Linked DNA regions of Homo sapiens: regions 1, 3, 4, 5 and 6 are each linked to region 2. The links are contacts of gene promoters, found by promoter capture Hi-C in blood cells and fetal thymus (Javierre and others, 2016). All regions are on one chromosome and are shown on one strand. The core of a region is centred on a gene start or on the middle of the fragment in contact, and the rest is flanking DNA. Distances in the headings are between cores, read along the strand shown. Region 1 overlaps LRRC7 (leucine rich repeat containing 7). Region 2 holds the start of DEPDC1 (DEP domain containing 1). Region 3 holds the start of ANKRD13C (ankyrin repeat domain 13C). Region 4 holds the start of LRRC7 (leucine rich repeat containing 7). Region 5 overlaps LOC105378789 (a long non-coding RNA gene). Region 6 overlaps LRRC7 (leucine rich repeat containing 7).

What was found. Contacts are between HindIII fragments. The CHiCAGO score rates a contact against its expected background, and 5 or more counts as called.
Region 1: a contact is called between a fragment that was not itself captured here and the fragment with the promoter of DEPDC1 in region 2, in 1 of 17 cell types (endothelial precursors). The highest score is 7.0, in endothelial precursors.
Region 3: the fragment with the promoter of ANKRD13C here is called in contact with the fragment with the promoter of DEPDC1 in region 2 in 1 of 17 cell types (erythroblasts); the score reaches 6.0 in erythroblasts.
Region 4: a contact is called between the fragment with the promoter of LRRC7 here and the fragment with the promoter of DEPDC1 in region 2, in 2 of 17 cell types (endothelial precursors and erythroblasts). The highest score is 7.5, in endothelial precursors.
Region 5: a contact is called between a fragment that was not itself captured here and the fragment with the promoter of DEPDC1 in region 2, in 1 of 17 cell types (erythroblasts). The highest score is 5.6, in erythroblasts.
Region 6: a fragment that was not itself captured here is called in contact with the fragment with the promoter of DEPDC1 in region 2 in 2 of 17 cell types (M2 macrophages and M1 macrophages); the score reaches 7.7 in M2 macrophages.

The regions. Positions count from the first base shown.
Region 1 is chr1:69,730,149-69,732,848 of GRCh38, reverse strand. The region is part of intron 2 of LRRC7 (leucine rich repeat containing 7); the gene reads right to left. Among named protein-coding and RNA genes, the nearest start is that of LRRC7, 160 kb to the right of the region's middle. The HindIII fragment of the contact is 3,762 bases long and covers 1-2,700 here.
Region 2 is chr1:68,495,765-68,498,464 of GRCh38, reverse strand. DEPDC1 (DEP domain containing 1) reads left to right here and starts at 1,383. Exons shown (of 12, transcript NM_001114120.3): 1 at 1,383-1,513. The coding sequence starts at 1,466. DEPDC1-AS1 (DEPDC1 antisense RNA 1) reads right to left here and starts at 1,789. Exons shown (of 3, transcript NR_110671.1): 1 at 1,694-1,789. RefSeq lists enhancers at 1,483-1,542, 1,653-1,702. The HindIII fragment of the contact is 3,947 bases long and covers 1-1,904 here.
Region 3 is chr1:70,353,315-70,356,014 of GRCh38, reverse strand. ANKRD13C (ankyrin repeat domain 13C) reads left to right here and starts at 1,293. Exons shown (of 13, transcript NM_030816.5): 1 at 1,293-2,036. The coding sequence starts at 1,607. It overlaps ANKRD13C-DT (ANKRD13C divergent transcript), which reads right to left and starts at 1,204. Exons shown (of 4, transcript NR_168352.1): 1 at 807-1,204. RefSeq lists enhancers at 914-973, 1,074-1,133, 1,184-1,373, 1,404-1,463, 591-1,508 and 3 more. The HindIII fragment of the contact is 4,699 bases long and covers 1-1,753 here.
Region 4 is chr1:69,566,623-69,569,322 of GRCh38, reverse strand. It overlaps LRRC7 (leucine rich repeat containing 7), which reads right to left and starts at 1,401. Exons shown (of 27, transcript NM_001370785.2): 1 at 682-1,401. The coding sequence starts at 683. RefSeq lists a silencer at 1,748-1,977. The HindIII fragment of the contact is 5,142 bases long and covers 1-2,700 here.
Region 5 is chr1:69,537,726-69,540,425 of GRCh38, reverse strand. All of the region lies in intron 3 of LOC105378789 (a long non-coding RNA gene), which reads right to left. Among named protein-coding and RNA genes, the nearest start is that of LRRC7, 29 kb to the left of the region's middle. The HindIII fragment of the contact is 2,118 bases long and covers 267-2,384 here.
Region 6 is chr1:69,696,396-69,699,095 of GRCh38, reverse strand. The region is part of intron 2 of LRRC7 (leucine rich repeat containing 7); the gene reads right to left. Among named protein-coding and RNA genes, the nearest start is that of LRRC7, 130 kb to the right of the region's middle. The HindIII fragment of the contact is 1,661 bases long and covers 609-2,269 here.

The sequences.
Region 1 (2,700 bases), core at 184-2,683, 1.2 Mb before region 2:
TGTTAAAGTGGTTTACTCTATTGAAGTATCTTCATAAAAGTGTGTCAGTTGCAGCCCCATCCTCATTCACATTTAATTTTTAGTTCAAGTAAACTAAAATATTTTTGTATATAAAAAGGAGACAGATGAACTCTTCATTTTCTCAAAATTTAGAATCCAAATATTGCAAGTATATATAAAGCCCAATTGAGGATTGAAGAATTCTGTTTTCTTCAGTATGGGACTTTATTATTATATTTACTTAAATCTAATCTTTCTAGATTATTGTCCCTGCTTGTCCATATGAAACTTAAAAAAAATTCTCTTGCAACAGAATGTTAACATACTGGCCTTTAAATAATTGCTCTTTTAAAGTTCTGTGAATTTGGGAAAACTATTGGATCCTTTATTTCTAAGTTTTCAGGGACTTTTTTAAAACCTGACCAGAGCTTTTGGAATTTCTCACTGACTGCATATTTTAGTCATAACAGTGTTCATCTTTCCTTGAGCAATTAGCTGTATGTATTTTTTTTCCCTATTTTTCATTAGATTGTGTAAATCTATCGAACTTTAAAAAATTCTAAACAACCTTTAAAAAATCTTTTTTTGCCCTAGTATTAAGTATTTCCTTTATTTAAAAAAATATTTAGCTTTTTCTTGAAGTTATCTTCCAGACATTTTTAAATAAAGTCAGTATTTTAAAAACTAGCTAATTATTATTACTACTAAATTGGAATTACTTTTGTAACATGTAATACTTTTTTTAATCGAGAGTCTGTTTTCCTTTTTTATTTCATGTTCTAGGCACTGAATGGCTCAAATAATCGTTCCATTGGTATAAAAGAAATCAAGCAAAACACTTTGTCTAGTATTTTAAATATATTAACTAGTTAGCAATAAACATGTTATTTTTGTTCTATAAGGGGAAAATTTAGGGACAGTAGAGAGGACATTTTCACATTTTACTTGGAAGTACCCAGATAACTTCTCACTAATAATAAGCAAGATCTTGTAATAATGTAGCTCCTATTTCATAAGTGCTTATAAACTGCCCAGAACATCTAATGATATTCTCCCTCTTTCAAAATTCATCAATAGAGAATCCTTGTATAGATTTGCTAACTTTCATAGATGGAGACACCTTTTAATACTTTGGACATTGAACATTTTGTCCCAGATAATGTTTTTCAAATTGGTTCTGCAATAGCAAAGTGAACACCTTTCAAATGTACAATGCAAACAAAAAGTTACCTTTGAAGAGGATGTCTAAATACATTTATCATTCTCTTTTTCAGAGGGCTAAGTTAGGAACAGTTTATTTCCTGTTAGCATCCTCCAAATAAGCACATTTTCTTGTGTTTCTTCCACATTTTGGTAAAACAATAGTAAGTTTATACTTGATATGGTTGGGCTATATCTCCACCCAAATCTTATCTTGAATTGTAGTTCCCATAATCCCCACATATTGTGGGAGGAACCTGGTGGGAGGTAATTGAATCATGGGGGCAGTTACCCACATGCTGCTGTTCTTGTAATAGTGAGTGAGTTCTCATGAGGTCTCATGGTTTTTTTGGGGGTGGGGGTAATGGAGTCTTGCTGGAGTGCAGTGGCGTGATCTTGGCTCACTGCAAGCTCAGCCTCCCAGGTTCACACCATTCTCTAGCCTCAGCCTCCCGAGTAGCTGGGACTACAGACGCCCGCCACCACATCCGGCTATTTTTTTGTATTTTTAGTAGAGATGGGGTTTCACTGCATTAGCATAAGATGGTCTCTATCTCCTGACTTCATGATCCGCCCACCTCAGCCTCCCAAGGTGCTGGGATTACAGGTGTGAGCCACTGCACCCGGCCGAGATCTCATGGTTTTATAAGGAGCTTTTTCCCCTTTTTCTCGGCACTGCTTGCTGCCGCCATGTGAAGATAGATATTCTTGATTCCCCTTCTGTTATGATTGTAAGTTTTCTGAGGCCTCCTGAGCCCTGAATTGTGAGTCAATTAAAGCTCTTTCCTTTATAAATTACCTAGTCTCAGGTATATCTTTATTAGTAGTATGAGAACAGACTAATACAGTAAATTGGCACCAGGTAGTGGGGAGCTGCTCTAAAGATAGCTGAAAATGTGGAAGCTACTTTGGAACTGGTAATAGGCAGAGGTTGGGACAGTTGGAAGCGTTCAGAAGAAGATAGGAAAATGTGGAAAAGTTTGGAGCTTCCTAGAGACTTGGAGGACTCAGAAGAAAGGAAGATGTGGAAAAGTTTGGAGTTGCCTAGAAACTTGAATGGCTTTGACCAAAATGTTAATAGTGATATGGACAATAAAGTGCAGGATGAGGTGGTCTCAGATGGAGATGAGGAACTTGGAAACTGGAGTAAAAGTCACTCTTGCTAAGCAAAGAGACTGGTGGCATTTTGTCCCTGCCCTTGAGATCTGTGGAACTTTGAACTTGAGAGGGATGATTTAGGGTATCTGATGGAAGAAATTTCTATGCAGCAAAGCACTTAAGAGGAAGCAGGGAATAAAAGTTTAAAAAATTTGCAGCCTGACAACGCTGTAAAAAAGAAAAACCCATTTTCTGGAAAGACATTCAAGCCCACTGCAGAAATTTACATAAGTAACCAGATGCCAAATACTAATCACCAAGACAATGGGGAAAATGTCTCCAGGGATGTCAGAGACCCTCATGGCAGCCCCTCTCATCACAGGCCTGAAGGCCTAGGAGGGA
Region 2 (2,700 bases), core at 134-2,633:
CCACAGTGGATTATTAAGGTACTATTAAGCTGTGGCTACCTATATCAAAGGCTGTATGTGAGATGATTTTCAACTTGGGGAGCTGGGCAAAAATAAATTTTGGCTTCCACAGTCTCATCTCCATTTCCTTCTGAAAGGAAAAAGAAAAGAAAAACGAAAATCCTGGGACAATGTATCATAAAGCCAGGTAAGAAACAGTTAACATTATTTTGTAACATCAATCATTTTACTTTTCCTTAACATAAGTGGAAAATTGAGTAGATTGTTCCTGTTTACCAAGTATGTTTTTGAAAATTCCTACCCACTGGTCCTGGTAGAAAATAGATGTGCTTCTGCCCAAATTAAGGAAAACTCCACAGACCTACACTACCACTCCCTGAACATTTTTCTTTATCTCTTCTTTTTACTGCATCCTATCCTCTTAAACTGCTATTTAATTTCCAAGTGAATTCTTCCACAGCTTCAAATCACTCAAGCAATCTCCCACTTTACTAAGGGATTCTTAGCATCAGATAGTTTCAGACTGGTGACAGGGTATTTATTAAAAGCATGAAGTCTGTGCTTTGCCAAGGAGACCTAAGACTGAGTAAGTCTCTTCAACTCTCGGAATGTAGTTTTTGTCATTTGAAAATTGACTTCTGTTGAAGATTTATTTTCTAAGATCCTAGTGAAATTTTAAGTGTATAATCACGATCCAAACATAACCAACATTCTTATACAGTGGTAGAGTTTAAGGGAAGCAATTTGACAAGTTGTACACAACCTTTCCCAAGCCCCACATTGTATGTACTTAAGAAAGACTACCTATAATCCATTTTATTACCCAACTGGGGGGTTCTGAATGATCCATTTTACTGCACAATTAGGGGGTTCTGAACCTAGATTTTAGCACTTCAGAGAATCATGGCACCTGCTGAGAGAGAGGATAGGCAGCAGAGAGAGAAACTGCGACACATATCCATCAGGTTGCTTTGCCTTCTAAGCTAACTGCTGAAGATCCTGTAGGGCCAGGCAGAAAAACCGTATTTTCTTGTCTTTTCAAATTTCAAATTCCCTTAAACCAAAGGCTGGACTCCAAATAATTTCGTTTGGAACTAAAGAGCTCATCCCCTCTGAGCACGAAAACAGGACTCTGTGACTCCGCCTCGCCGTAGACCGCAGGAGGGAGAAACAGCGCCAGGGAAACCCGAGCCTGTCCCATCGAGGCGGTCCCAGGCCAGCCCAGCCCACCCCAGCCCGCGCCAGCTACTGGAGCCCCAGGACGCAGCCGAGCGGCCCTCGCCGACTCCTTCCCGAGCCTGGCTGTGGCGTCACGTGACCCGCGGCGCGGCCAATCCGCGCAGCCCTCTATGCTATTCAAATCGGCGGCGGGGCCAACGGTTGTGCCGAGACTCGCCACTGCCGCGGCCGCTGGGCCTGAGTGTCGCCTTCGCCGCCATGGACGCCACCGGGCGCTGACAGACCTATGGAGAGTCAGGGTGTGCCTCCCGGGCCTTATCGGGCCACCAAGCTGGTAAGACAGCTCGGATAGACGGGACCGGTCAGCGGGCTGACGGCAGTCACCACTGTTCGCAGTTTTACCTCGACCGTTCGCAGTTTTACCTCGGTCGGAGGGATGAGTCCCAGGATCCCTAGGTTCAGTGAAAAGGCTGGCGAGGAGAAGTAGCGGGTATGCAACCCTTGCCAGACTCACCGCTCCCTCTATTTTGAGGGTCTGGGCCTCAGGTCCGAAAGGAAGCGCCGCGCGTAGGCCGCACCAGACTCGCTATGAGGAGCGACTCCTGTGCCTGGTGTGGCCGGCGTCCCGTGGGGGCGTCTTAGAATATTCCGATTTGGCCGCTCACCTCGCCTGATTTTCTACCCGCCTCAGAATTAGGGAACAATTGGGAATGAGGTCCAAAGCTTTGTAGGGTTAGGTGGGGGGCAAGCCCGAATGTGGCAATTTTGTTTATTGAACCCATAGAATTTAACGCAGGATGTATCGGCCGAATAGCACTAGGATAACAGCTGCCTGTTTCAAAACGGTATTTCTGAGTACCCATCAGTAACCACTGCTGGTGGTCCCTGAATTGCACGTACAGCACTCCTAACGCGTTTTGTGCAGTTGGGTCTTCGGTTCTATAGGATACTGTGGTGCTGGTTATGTGACGTTAGGTGAGTCCCCTACCTTCTGTGAGCCTGTTTCCACATTGGTAAAGGTTACTAATACATGCTTGCCTTAAGGGGTTTCCCAGGAGGATGCTGTTTTTTAAAGTGTGTTGTGATCTGCAGAATAACAAGCATTTTCCTCTTAGGAATGCCCTTCAGACGAGCATGTATTATTAGCCCTACTTTATCAGGTGCACACTGAGGCTCACAGACGTTAAATGCCCTCTAGAGTCACATCAACAGCAAGTGGCAGAGCTAGAATTCAGATCTTCCTGGTATGGCGATCTTACATGGATTCTGCTACTTAGTAAGTTATTGGCTATATTTACCAATATGAAGGATAGAATTTAGGACAGGAAGGAACCTCAATCAGTAGTCCTGCCACATTATTTAAAACCCATTAGATGAAAGTAGTATAAGCACGCTGAAAAAGAAAACATGCACTGAATGCTTACTAGTACTTCACATATATTACATCATTTTATCATTCCAATAAGCCCATTCGTTAGGTCCTTTTGTCCCTGTTTTGTGGTTAAGGAGATTGAGGCATAG
Region 3 (2,700 bases), core at 44-2,543, 1.9 Mb before region 2:
GAGGCCCATCGAGTTGTTTGTTTGCGGAGATGAGTTAGCAGTAGTATAAACTTTAAGAAAGAAGAGATCTGGCCGGGCGCAGTGGCTCATGCCTGTAATCCCAGCACTTTGGGAGGCTGAGGCTGGCGGATCACTGAGGTCAGGGGTTCAAGACCAGCCTGGCCAACACGGTGAAACCCCGTCTCTACTAAAAATACAACAATTAGCTTGGTGTGGTGGCGCAGGCCTATAATCCCAGCTACTCTGGAGGCTGAGGCAGGAGAATCGCTTGGACCTGGGAGGTGGAGGTCGCAGTGAGCCGAGATTGCACCACTGCACTCTAGCCTGGACTACAGAGACTCTGTCAAAAAAACAAAAAAACAAAAAAAAGAGAGAGAGATCTGAAGTATTTGCTCTCAGAACATAGGGGGACTTTGGAGAGTTAAATGGGTGAAGATCTTTAGGATGTTTTGCTAAGCCCCCTCCTTACGTCCTCAGTGGCCAGCTTTAGTTACTTTGTTAAAGTTTTATGGTTGGCAGATTTACGTTTCTTCAGAGTTTGACACTAGGTTGAGGTTGGCCATGAACTAATACAATTATATTTCAGTTACACGATTCTTTGCCCTCCTTGAGTGTCCCCACCCTCATATATGTTAACTCTGACATCTGCCCGAAATTCATTCATCTAATAAATATTTGAGTGGCCTCCCCTCTTTCCGATTGCTGGACAGCCCATCATTTTCCAAAGTCAGCACCTAAACTCTTCTATGACTTTCCTGACAACTCAACACTAAAATTCGTCCCTCCCTTTTTTGTGTGCAACCCACCTCCCCGCCTCCGCTTTTAATTGTTTGGCCTTCATTCCTCTTCTACAGTGCTCCCTGCAATCAGTACTGGTGCTGTACATATTTGCTAGCTTCGTACATACGGCACGAAGTAGATGCTCAGTAAATGTTGGTTGACTGAGTATCCTCTGCATCTCGGTGACATCACATCCTGCGTGCCGTGGCGTCATTCTGCATTCCTCTGCGGGAGGCTCAGATCCGGAGGGTTTAAGTGGTTGTTTATAACATGCACCGAACATATCCAACGGAGGCTGTGGTTTCCGACCGCCCACAAAAAGCGCGGTTGGCGGGAGTGCGGGTTCGGGGTCGGCTGGCAGCTGGGAGACTCCAGCTCTGGGCGGAAACACACTGCCTCGGAGGCGCCGGCGCCTAGTGATTCTGGGAATAGAAGGTGCGAGGGAGGGAGCGGGTGGCTCACTTATCGCGGTGTTTTCTCTCTCTTCACTCCTGGGGGAGCTCTCGCGAGAGGAGCAAGAGGAAGATGGCCGTGCCCTGTTTTTCGGTGTAAGGCAGCGACGGCGGCTGCGACGGCGAGACTGAGATCCTGGTGTCGTGGGCACCTGAGTTCTAGCTTCCCCCAGCGAGCGCGCGTCCCTTCGTGCCTAGGCGAGAGCCGGCTCTTCCCCGGGAGATGCGTTTGTCCCAGGCTCGGGGGCTCAGTGGGAGTTCATGCTGCGCTGGAGGCTCTTGGCCACCGCTCTAATCGCCTTGTGCCGCCGCAGCGCCAGCTCCGTCGCCAGCGGTGAGCCTCCCGATTCCCCCCCTTGCCCCTGGCGGCGGCGATGACCGGGGAGAAGATCCGCTCACTGCGGAGGGACCACAAGCCCAGCAAAGAAGAAGGGGACCTGCTGGAGCCCGGGGATGAGGAAGCGGCGGCTGCCCTCGGCGGTACCTTTACCAGAAGCAGGATTGGCAAGGGCGGCAAAGCTTGTCATAAGATCTTCAGTAACCATCACCACCGGCTACAGCTGAAGGCAGCTCCGGCCTCCTCCAATCCCCCCGGCGCCCCGGCTCTGCCGCTGCACAATTCCTCCGTGACTGCCAACTCCCAGTCCCCGGCCCTTCTGGCCGGCACCAACCCCGTTGCTGTCGTCGCGGATGGAGGCAGTTGCCCCGCACACTACCCGGTGCACGAGTGCGTCTTCAAGGGGGATGTGAGGAGACTCTCCTCTCTCATCCGCACGCACAATATCGGGCAGAAAGATAATCACGGTGAGGAGTGCTAGCCCCTCTCCACCTCTCTCCTTCCCCGAGCCTAGGGTGTGCCTCCCCAGGCTTCTGGAATCCTAGGCCCCCTCCAGCAGACTCTTCTTTTTGCCCATCATCCGGGCCGTTCGGTAAATCATGATCGACTCAGTAATAGCGTGCCAGTGGTCAAGGGGTTGGTTCTTGTGGGTGCAAAGGAATGTATCCTCCTTGCCCACTTCAAAGTTTGTCGTGAGAAGCTGTTTTGTTTGAGACAGGCCTTCGATTTGCTGATTCTGGACTGTCAGAAATTTTAGGTTGCCTCCCACCCAACATGGTTTTCTCCCTTTGTTTATGGAGCTATATATCTTTATTTCTCTCTCTTCCCCCTACCTTGGCATTTTAAATTTTGAACGCATAAATTGCCCTCCTCCCTTCATTGCTCACATACAGATCCCATCTTGACTGCAACTGGTTGTGATTTTGCCTGCCACCAGGTTGTTTCTTTTTTGTCTGCTTTCAGTAAACTTAGAATGTTAGATTTCTGAAAGCCACACAGTAGAAATTTGTTGGTATTTGATACGTAGAACAGTTAAAGTGACTTCTCAACAGCCGATTTTTGTTTGAGTAGAGATTTGATTTTTTGCTTGTTTTAAGTAGATAATTGCTAATAGTAATGTCTCATCTTGAT
Region 4 (2,700 bases), core at 152-2,651, 1.1 Mb before region 2:
TGACAGGGAGGGAGGCAAGGTTCTCCCTGACTCCCAGGGAACACGCTCCCCCACTTCTTTCCGTCCTCCAGTCTTTCATGTTCCTTCGTCCCCTCCATCCCCCCAAACCCCACCCTTTCCCTTCAATCCCAATCACATAAAAATCTTCTAATTGTATTTTTTCAAACAGACATCGAGACATTGATACAACACCTTCCAAGATAAAGAGACAAGTGCGTCCTGCCACAAGTGTGTGTGAGTGTGTGTGTGTGTGTGTCACGATCAAACACGCGCTTCATCCCTCAGACACCTCTGGGAAAAAAGCTGACTGGAGATACCCAAGATAATAACGAGGAGCTAAACCTAATTTCAGCGGAACCAATGGTCCCAGCACCAGCGCCCAACATTTACCTTTCCTTTTCGCAGTATGTAACCCTTTAAGGTCTCTTGCCAGCTCAAGCTACTCGGTGCTCCCATGCACCCGCCCAGTTAGCACCCCATTTCCAAATGCTCTGCAACCTACCACATCTTCGCCGCCTCCCTCGGCCACCGCACAAGCAGCTCCCCGCGAGCGCCGAAGCCTCCCGCCCTGCCACCCCCGCCCCCGGCCGGCCTCTGGGGTCCCACACCTCGCGCGCCTACGGTCGCCGCGGCCGGGCCCCCGCAGCACCCTCCGCCACGGAGCGAGCGTGCCTTACTCACATCGCCGGCGGGAGAAACTGCCCATGAGGTTTCGGAGAGCGTAGTCGTGCAGCTGCCAAGGGTTATTCCTTAAGTGTTCAGGGGTCCGCAGTGGAGTGGGCGCCAGGGTCTTCGGAGGAGAAGAGGAGGGAAGGAGTAGAAGGTAGGAAGAACAGGAGATAGAGGGGAATCCAGGAAGGTGCCACGTTAGACCATGATGCCAGTGCCCTTCAGGTGGACGGCTGGAGAGGTTCCCGCGGGAAGCGGCTGAGGGGAAGCCCGAAGCGCCGGCGGGGGAGGCAGGAGCGCGTCCACTCCCCAGCCTCAGCCTGCCCAGCGCGCCGCGCTAGCGACCGCAGCAGCAGCGGCGGCGGCGGCGGCGGTGGCGGAGGCGCAGCTCCCTCCCCGCCCCCAGAAGGCTCCACAGACAATAAATCCTGGGCGGAGAAGAGACAAGCAGGAAAGGCGAATCCTGCACCCAACTCCGTAACAACCCCTGCCCGTTGCCGCGCCTGTGCAGGGCGAGGATCCCCAGGGGCCAGGGCGCAGCGGGCGTCTCGGAGGGGCTGAGCGCTCCGCAACTGCAGGAGGCGGTGGCGGTGGCCCGAGTGGGCGGCTGCAGGTCCCGCCGGCGAGAACCCGCTGCACTGGGGCTGGGTGTCCGTGGCTTCAAGCCCGGTGTTCACCCGGAGTAGGGTCCTCCTCGGTGCAGTGGCTCGGCGCACAGGTGCCAGGATTGGCAGGCGAGGAGGCGCCGCTCATGGCTCTTGGCTGTGTCTCACCGCTCTCCCCGCCCCCTCTCTTTTTTCCCACCCCCTTTTCCGACGACACCAGCTGCAGCTGCTTCAAAGTGTGAAAAATGTCAAGGAGATTTTCCAATGATAGGAGGGGGTAACCATGTTCACAACCCTCGGTCTCTTTTTGAGATCCTCGCCTGTCCCTCTGACCTCTACTCCGGCTCCCCCAAATTATGAGAAGAAAAATCCCAGTCCTGCACAGGATTGAAACGCTAGCCTTCTCCCGGCTCCGTCACGATAGGCTGCTTTTCGAGAACGGGACGAGAGGCCGAGCTCTCTGGGTTCCTCTCGCCTCCGTGGTGTTCGAGGCAGGTGGCACGAATCTCAGCGCGGGGCGGAGCGCGGCTGCCGGCTCCTCCCGCTCGCGGGCCAGCCCCGGGCGCTCGGGCAGCGCGGCGCGGCTTTCTGCAGCGCGGCCGCCTGAGCGGCAGAAGCGGCTCCCGGCCTGTGCGCCTGCCTGAGCGCCCCTGCACCCGCACTAGCTCAGTGACGCTGAGCTCGTGGCTCCTCAGGCTGCTGCTCCTGCTATCTCAGCAAAGAGGCGGCCGGGAGCGCCTCCTCGGGGTTTCCTCCCCCGCCCGCCTTGCCTGCTGCAGGTTGTTGGCTGCCAAGGAGAAAAGTCTCCGCTTGTGCGTCAGGTCGCTTCACATCAGTCATGGCAGCGAACCTTGTGCCTGCTCTTAAGTCCTCTCCTCATTCTGGGGTTGCGGCTGCTGCCCTGGGAGTGCACAAAAAGGGAAGGGTTTTCCCAACTTCCCTTCATATATTCACCGCCCCTCCTCCTGCCATGAACATTCTCTCTGACACACACACACACACACACACACACACACACACACACACACACTCTCTCTCTCTCTCTCATATGCTCCCTTACGTAAAGGCACACACACTTTCTTCTTATACGCTTCTCTAAAGTCCCAGAAGCAGCAAGACATATCAATGAAGCTAGTACTATATTTACACTTTTTTTTTTTTTTTTTGAAACGGAGTTTCGCTCTTGTTGACCAGGCTGGAGTACAATGGCGCGATCTCGGCTCACTGCAACCTCTTCCTCCCCGGTTCAAGCGATCTTCCTGCCTCAGCCTCCCGAGTAGCTGGGATTACAGGCGCGTGCCACCACGCCCGGATGATTTTTTTTGTATTTTTAGTAGAGACGGGGGTTTCACCATGTTGCCCAGGCTGGTCTCGAATTCCTGACCTCAGGTGATCCACCTGTCTCGGCCTCCCAAAATGCTGGGAT
Region 5 (2,700 bases), core at 76-2,575, 1.0 Mb before region 2:
TCTATGGGTGTTCCTTTTGGACTCTGTAGCGATTACTCTCTTGTCTACTTGGTCACTGCTCTTTCAGCTAAAATTTACTATCCAAGTTGGCAGCTGGTGAGCATATGATGTTTTTTCTGAGTTTGGCCAGGGCCTGTTGTCTTCCCTGATAACTCGACCCTATCTTAGTCCTCACCAGCACTTGAGGTCTGGATGTACCTTAACTGAACCCTAATCTACAACTGCAGAGTTACTTTTCCCAGTCACAGCAACTCGTAGGGTAAGCTTGCTAGCCAGCAGCTTTGCGTGCCTCTCGAAGGCCACTTGGAACTTCTGGCCACCTGCTAAACCCACAGGGCAAGCTGGAATTGACACTGGACGGGTAACTCTTGTTAGCCTCTGTCCAAACACATGATGCCACTGACTTGACTTTGTTTAAACACATTAATATAGTTGCCATTGGTTATGCAGAATACTTTTGCAGGAGGTTCTCCCTACTAAAACCAATGACAGAATGGCCTTTCTGCCCCTGAATTTCCCCTCACCTACATAGCAAACAGCCCTACTTTAGGCTGGAAATGAAAGAACAGGCCACACACATCCCGTCGCTTAATTCCTCCTCTTCAGGATCTCTTGTCCTTCCAAGTATCTATCTGAAATCAAAGAGGCGAAATTTCCACTTCCCCAGGATTTGACCAGATTTCCTTTCATCCATAGAATACTCCTTCCAGAGAAAATATTCCCTCCATTTTCCATTCCCTGAAGCTAGACTAATGGAAATATTGTAGTGAGCATGATTTTTATGACAGAGGAGTAAAAAAGTATGCGTTTACACTTAAATATAATCATGTATGTAAAGATCTGCAAAAAAGTGTTCTATTGCTTTTTTCTCTTAAACTTGATCACAGAGACCTTTTGACAAAAAGAATATTTCAAGATACAAATTTTCTTGAAATGCTAAGAATGAATGTAGAGTTTTAAAAAGGAACAAATGAACCACAAGTAAAATACAAGTGAAAAGTTTAGAAAGATGAGTGCATTGGGATGCACTGCTAAATGATCCATGAACTTCCTGGGGATGTTAAGACATTTTTGTTTGTTGTTTGCTTGTTTTAGGAGATTGAAGAGTGGGAGGTAAGAAAATGGGAGCAGTGAGTGTCACAGTTTTTTTTCCAAGGAGCTTGGTTGAGGAAGGAGTAAAATGGGGCAGTGGCTAGAGGGGAGACCCTCGATGGGAAATATTTGCTTTTGATGGGTGAGACATGAAGATGTTTACATGGAGGGAAATGAGTTACTCAGAGTAAGCTATTGAAGATATAGAGAAAGGAGAATAGAGCAAGGTCCCAAAGGCCATGAAGTTGGGTCAGATCAAGATTACAAAAGGAAGGCTACATCAAGAATAGGATGAGAGCCACCTCTGCTCCTGAGGCAGGTAGGAAGAAAGAAGTGTGCATGCGCAAAAATGTCAAATGTTTCTAAGTGGACAGCAGAGGAGACGAGGTATTTCAGGCCAAACAGCCTTAAATTTTTGTTAAAGAAGGAAGGAAAGATATTTGCTGAGAGTAATTAGAATAGGAGATTTGAAGAAAACTGAAAAAATAGTGAAGGTCCAAAAAGTCCTATAGAGGAGATAACCAAAGTTCTGGTTAAATATAAACAGTGATCGAGTGCTGAGACTGAAATCCATGAATTTGAATCTACATGGCACCAGTGTGCATGACTGTGTAATTTTTACCATGCAGTCAGTGTTCTGGATCAGAAAAGGCCAACTGTGAAATTGATCCAAGGTTGGGATTTTTCCATATGGAATATAAAAAAACAAAAACAAAAACAAAAAACAAACAAAAAAACCCCATGAATTTGAAGAATCTGAGGGTGTTGATGAGAGAGTGGTTCATGTAATCAACCAAGAAATCTAGGGAAGAGCTTGAGATCAGAAAGAAACAAATAAAATGGAAAGATCAAGAGCCTGGTATACTGGCAGGCAAAAAAAAAAAAACAAAACCCAAAAAACAAACAAACAAACAAACAAAACTTCAAGTTAAAGGAATACTGGATGATAAAAACATTGAAGTTTCTTTGGGTGAGTTTTCCTGGAAATGAGAAGAAAATAGCAATAATTCATTGTTATGTCATATGATAGCTGATTTTCCCAATGCCATATATTAACTATTTGGTCTTTCTTCTACTAATTTCCAAAATTTGTTATAAATCAATTTCCCCTGTACTTGTGGAACCATTTCTGTTTCACTGTTACAAGTGACACTATATCAAATGAGTCTATAATAAAATAAATATAGTAAGTTCTAGTATCTGATAGGACAAGTTCCCCTTCATTATACTTCAAAATATTCCTGGCTATTCTGGTTCATCCGTTAACCAAAACACAAATTTTTGATTAAGCTTTTCAAAAATTACTGAAAAACCCTGATAAAATTTTGATTGGAATAGCATTGAATGTACAGATTCAATTTAGGGAAAATTTGTCTTTTAGCAAGCATGGGTTTACAACTGATGAATATGTTAGATTGCTAGATATAATAAAATATTCTTTCATGAGTTCATGATCTTTCTGACCATTAAGATTTATGTTTAGTTACAAATTATTTTCATATTGTAAATATAACCATTTCTTTAAAACTTGTATTTTCTAACTGATATTGATATTAGATGGGAATTATTATTGATTTTTAGATATTGAACTTATATCCAGAAACTTCT
Region 6 (2,700 bases), core at 190-2,689, 1.2 Mb before region 2:
GTTGAACTAGTTTACAGTCCCACCAAGACCGCACGTTGTGCACGTGTACCCTAGAACTTAAAGTATATATAAATCTCAAGGAGCTCTGAAATTGTAGCAAAGAAGTCAGAGAGAAGGCAAAAGGGATAGGAGTAAGTTTGACTATACTTTATAGCTTAAAGTCAGACAGACAGAGAGTTACAGATGGGAAGGTGAGTGAGGTAGGAAAAATCTAAAATTTGAATGAAGACTAAAGCATTGACCAATAATTTGGACTGAGATAGTCTAACAACAACATTGAGACCATGTTATGTGAATTAAAGCAATCACAAGGCTGTTTATTACCTAATGATGAATTAATGATATCAAGGCAGGGTAAGACTATCCCCCTTTCAATGCACAGAAGGTAATGAAAATACAGTTACATCTTAATTGTGTCATGAAATATGGTTGTTCAAACTCTCAGTTATACATACTGGGATGTCTAGAATAGAAGGAGAATGCCATGAGCCTGGTTGCAGGGGTGAGGAAGGGTACTAGAAATTTTGTTCAGTTTTCTGGATATTCCTAGGAAGCAGAAATAATAAAAGGAGATCTAGATGGGTTTCTCTATAAGATTACGGGAAGCTTCTTATTCATTTAGTTAATTGTAGCTTTGGCGAGAGCCATTGCTTTCTGGGGCATGATTTGGAAGACATTCTGGATTACATGTTTTGGCAATGCATCATTTTTGTCAAATATCAGATAGACTGTCATCAGTATAAGAAAGTGCTGGGGGTTGAAACTAAATTAAGCTAAAATAGGGCAATCTTCATGAGATTATGTGCCTTGAATATATGCAAGTCTTATCAAGAGAGGCTCTCTCGATTGCACTTTAATCCAGAACGGGTGTTCTAGATATTGATGTGCAGTCATATCATGGCAGACTGAGTCCACAAAAACTTCTGTCAGAGCTTGCGGATAGTTATAAATGCCACTGGAGTATTGTTGGAGAGGACAGACTTGTTGCTCACTTCTCAGGCTTCAAGAGGAGGCACTTTCCCTAAACTTCCTGAACTCTTGCCCCATTTTTTCTTTCTCACAAATGTTTAAGGAATTGTCTGATTGGCAGGGTCTGAAGATGTGAGCACAGATGCAAAGCTCAGACACTTCCCCTATCTTTCTTCTGGAGTCTACCTGAGGATATTTGGTTTTGCCTCCAAGGCCTCAGTTGTACAGCAGTAAGCCCCATGGGATGAGGCTAGATGCACTAAGTCTTAGGAAGATCCTTGTAGCCATGCACTTAAACCACCTCCTCCAATATCAGTTTTATCACTAATGAACATAAATAGACACAAAGTAGATTTTGGTGACTCAAATAACACCTGGAGACATTTTTAGCGAAACTAGGGCATGGGGCTATGGGCTGTCAGCTTTAGCTATGCAAGATTTTGACTTTGGGGTTTATTGTAGGGCATAGCAGTTTTATTCCTAAGCAAATAGTTGTTTTGGGGCAGATGGGACAATTTTATCATTAGTGTATAGCCCCTGCTGGCCTGAGTAGATACTGGCTGAGCTACTGCAGTTTGATCTTGATCTTTGAACTGTGTTATCACACAAGCACTGTCCATGGTCTTGTAACTCAGAGAACACTTATTATGGTTTTGCCCACAGCGGGGTAGTGAATCTGATTAAAAAACATGAAAAGTAGTTGCAAGTGCTTACTATACAGAGAATCTACTCTATCTTCAGTGGAATTGAACAAGGTAACAAACAAGTTATTAAAATTATTGCACACTTAAAGGCTATGAAGAGAAAGAATAAAGGCTGTGTTTGGAGCACCTGGATTTTAAGAATTGAGTTTGTGTAAAATATCCAGGAGGAATTGCAGTTGTGTGAAAGAGGCATGTTTTAGTTTTCTTATTAGAACGGAAGAAGTGGGAAAAAAATAAAAAAATAGAAAAACTAGTTGATTACTTTGGAGGAAAAGAGAGATTTCCTTATGAGAAACATAGAGATTTTATGAGACAAATTAGATAGCCATGAAATAGAGAATGGAATCTTGATGCTTGAAAGAAACAAATATTAAGAGCAAAAGGATAGACCCAGATCTGATTGATCTTAAAAAGGAAGGTAGAAAAGCAGATGTTTCAGCTATTATCAGATGTGTTAGTCCATTTGCATTCATATAAAGGAATACCTGAAGCTGGGTAATTTATAAAGAAAAGAGGTTTATTTTGGCTTATGGTTCTGTGGGCTGTACAAGAAGTGTGGTGCCAGCATCTGCTTCTGGTGAGGTCTTAAGGAAGCTTATAAATTCATGGCAGAAGGCAACATGAGAACTAGCATATCACATGACGAGTGGAAGCAAGAGAGAGTGATTTTAAACAATCACGTCTCACATGAACTCAGAGCAGGAACTCACGCATTATCACGAGGACAGCACCAAGCCTCATGAGGAATCTGCCCCATGACCTAAACACATCTACTAGGCCCATGTTAAACACTGGAGGTCACATTTCAACATGAGATTTGGAGGGGAGAAAATATCTAAGCCATATCATTCCACTCCTGTCCCTCCACATCATCTCTTGTTCTTCTCACATTGCAAAATACAATCATCACTTCCTGATCGTCCTCAAAAGTCTTAACTAATTCCAGCATCATTCAAAAGTCCCAAGTCCGAAGTTCAAAGTCCCATCTGAGACTCCTATGAGCCTGTAAATTAAAAAAACAAGTTAT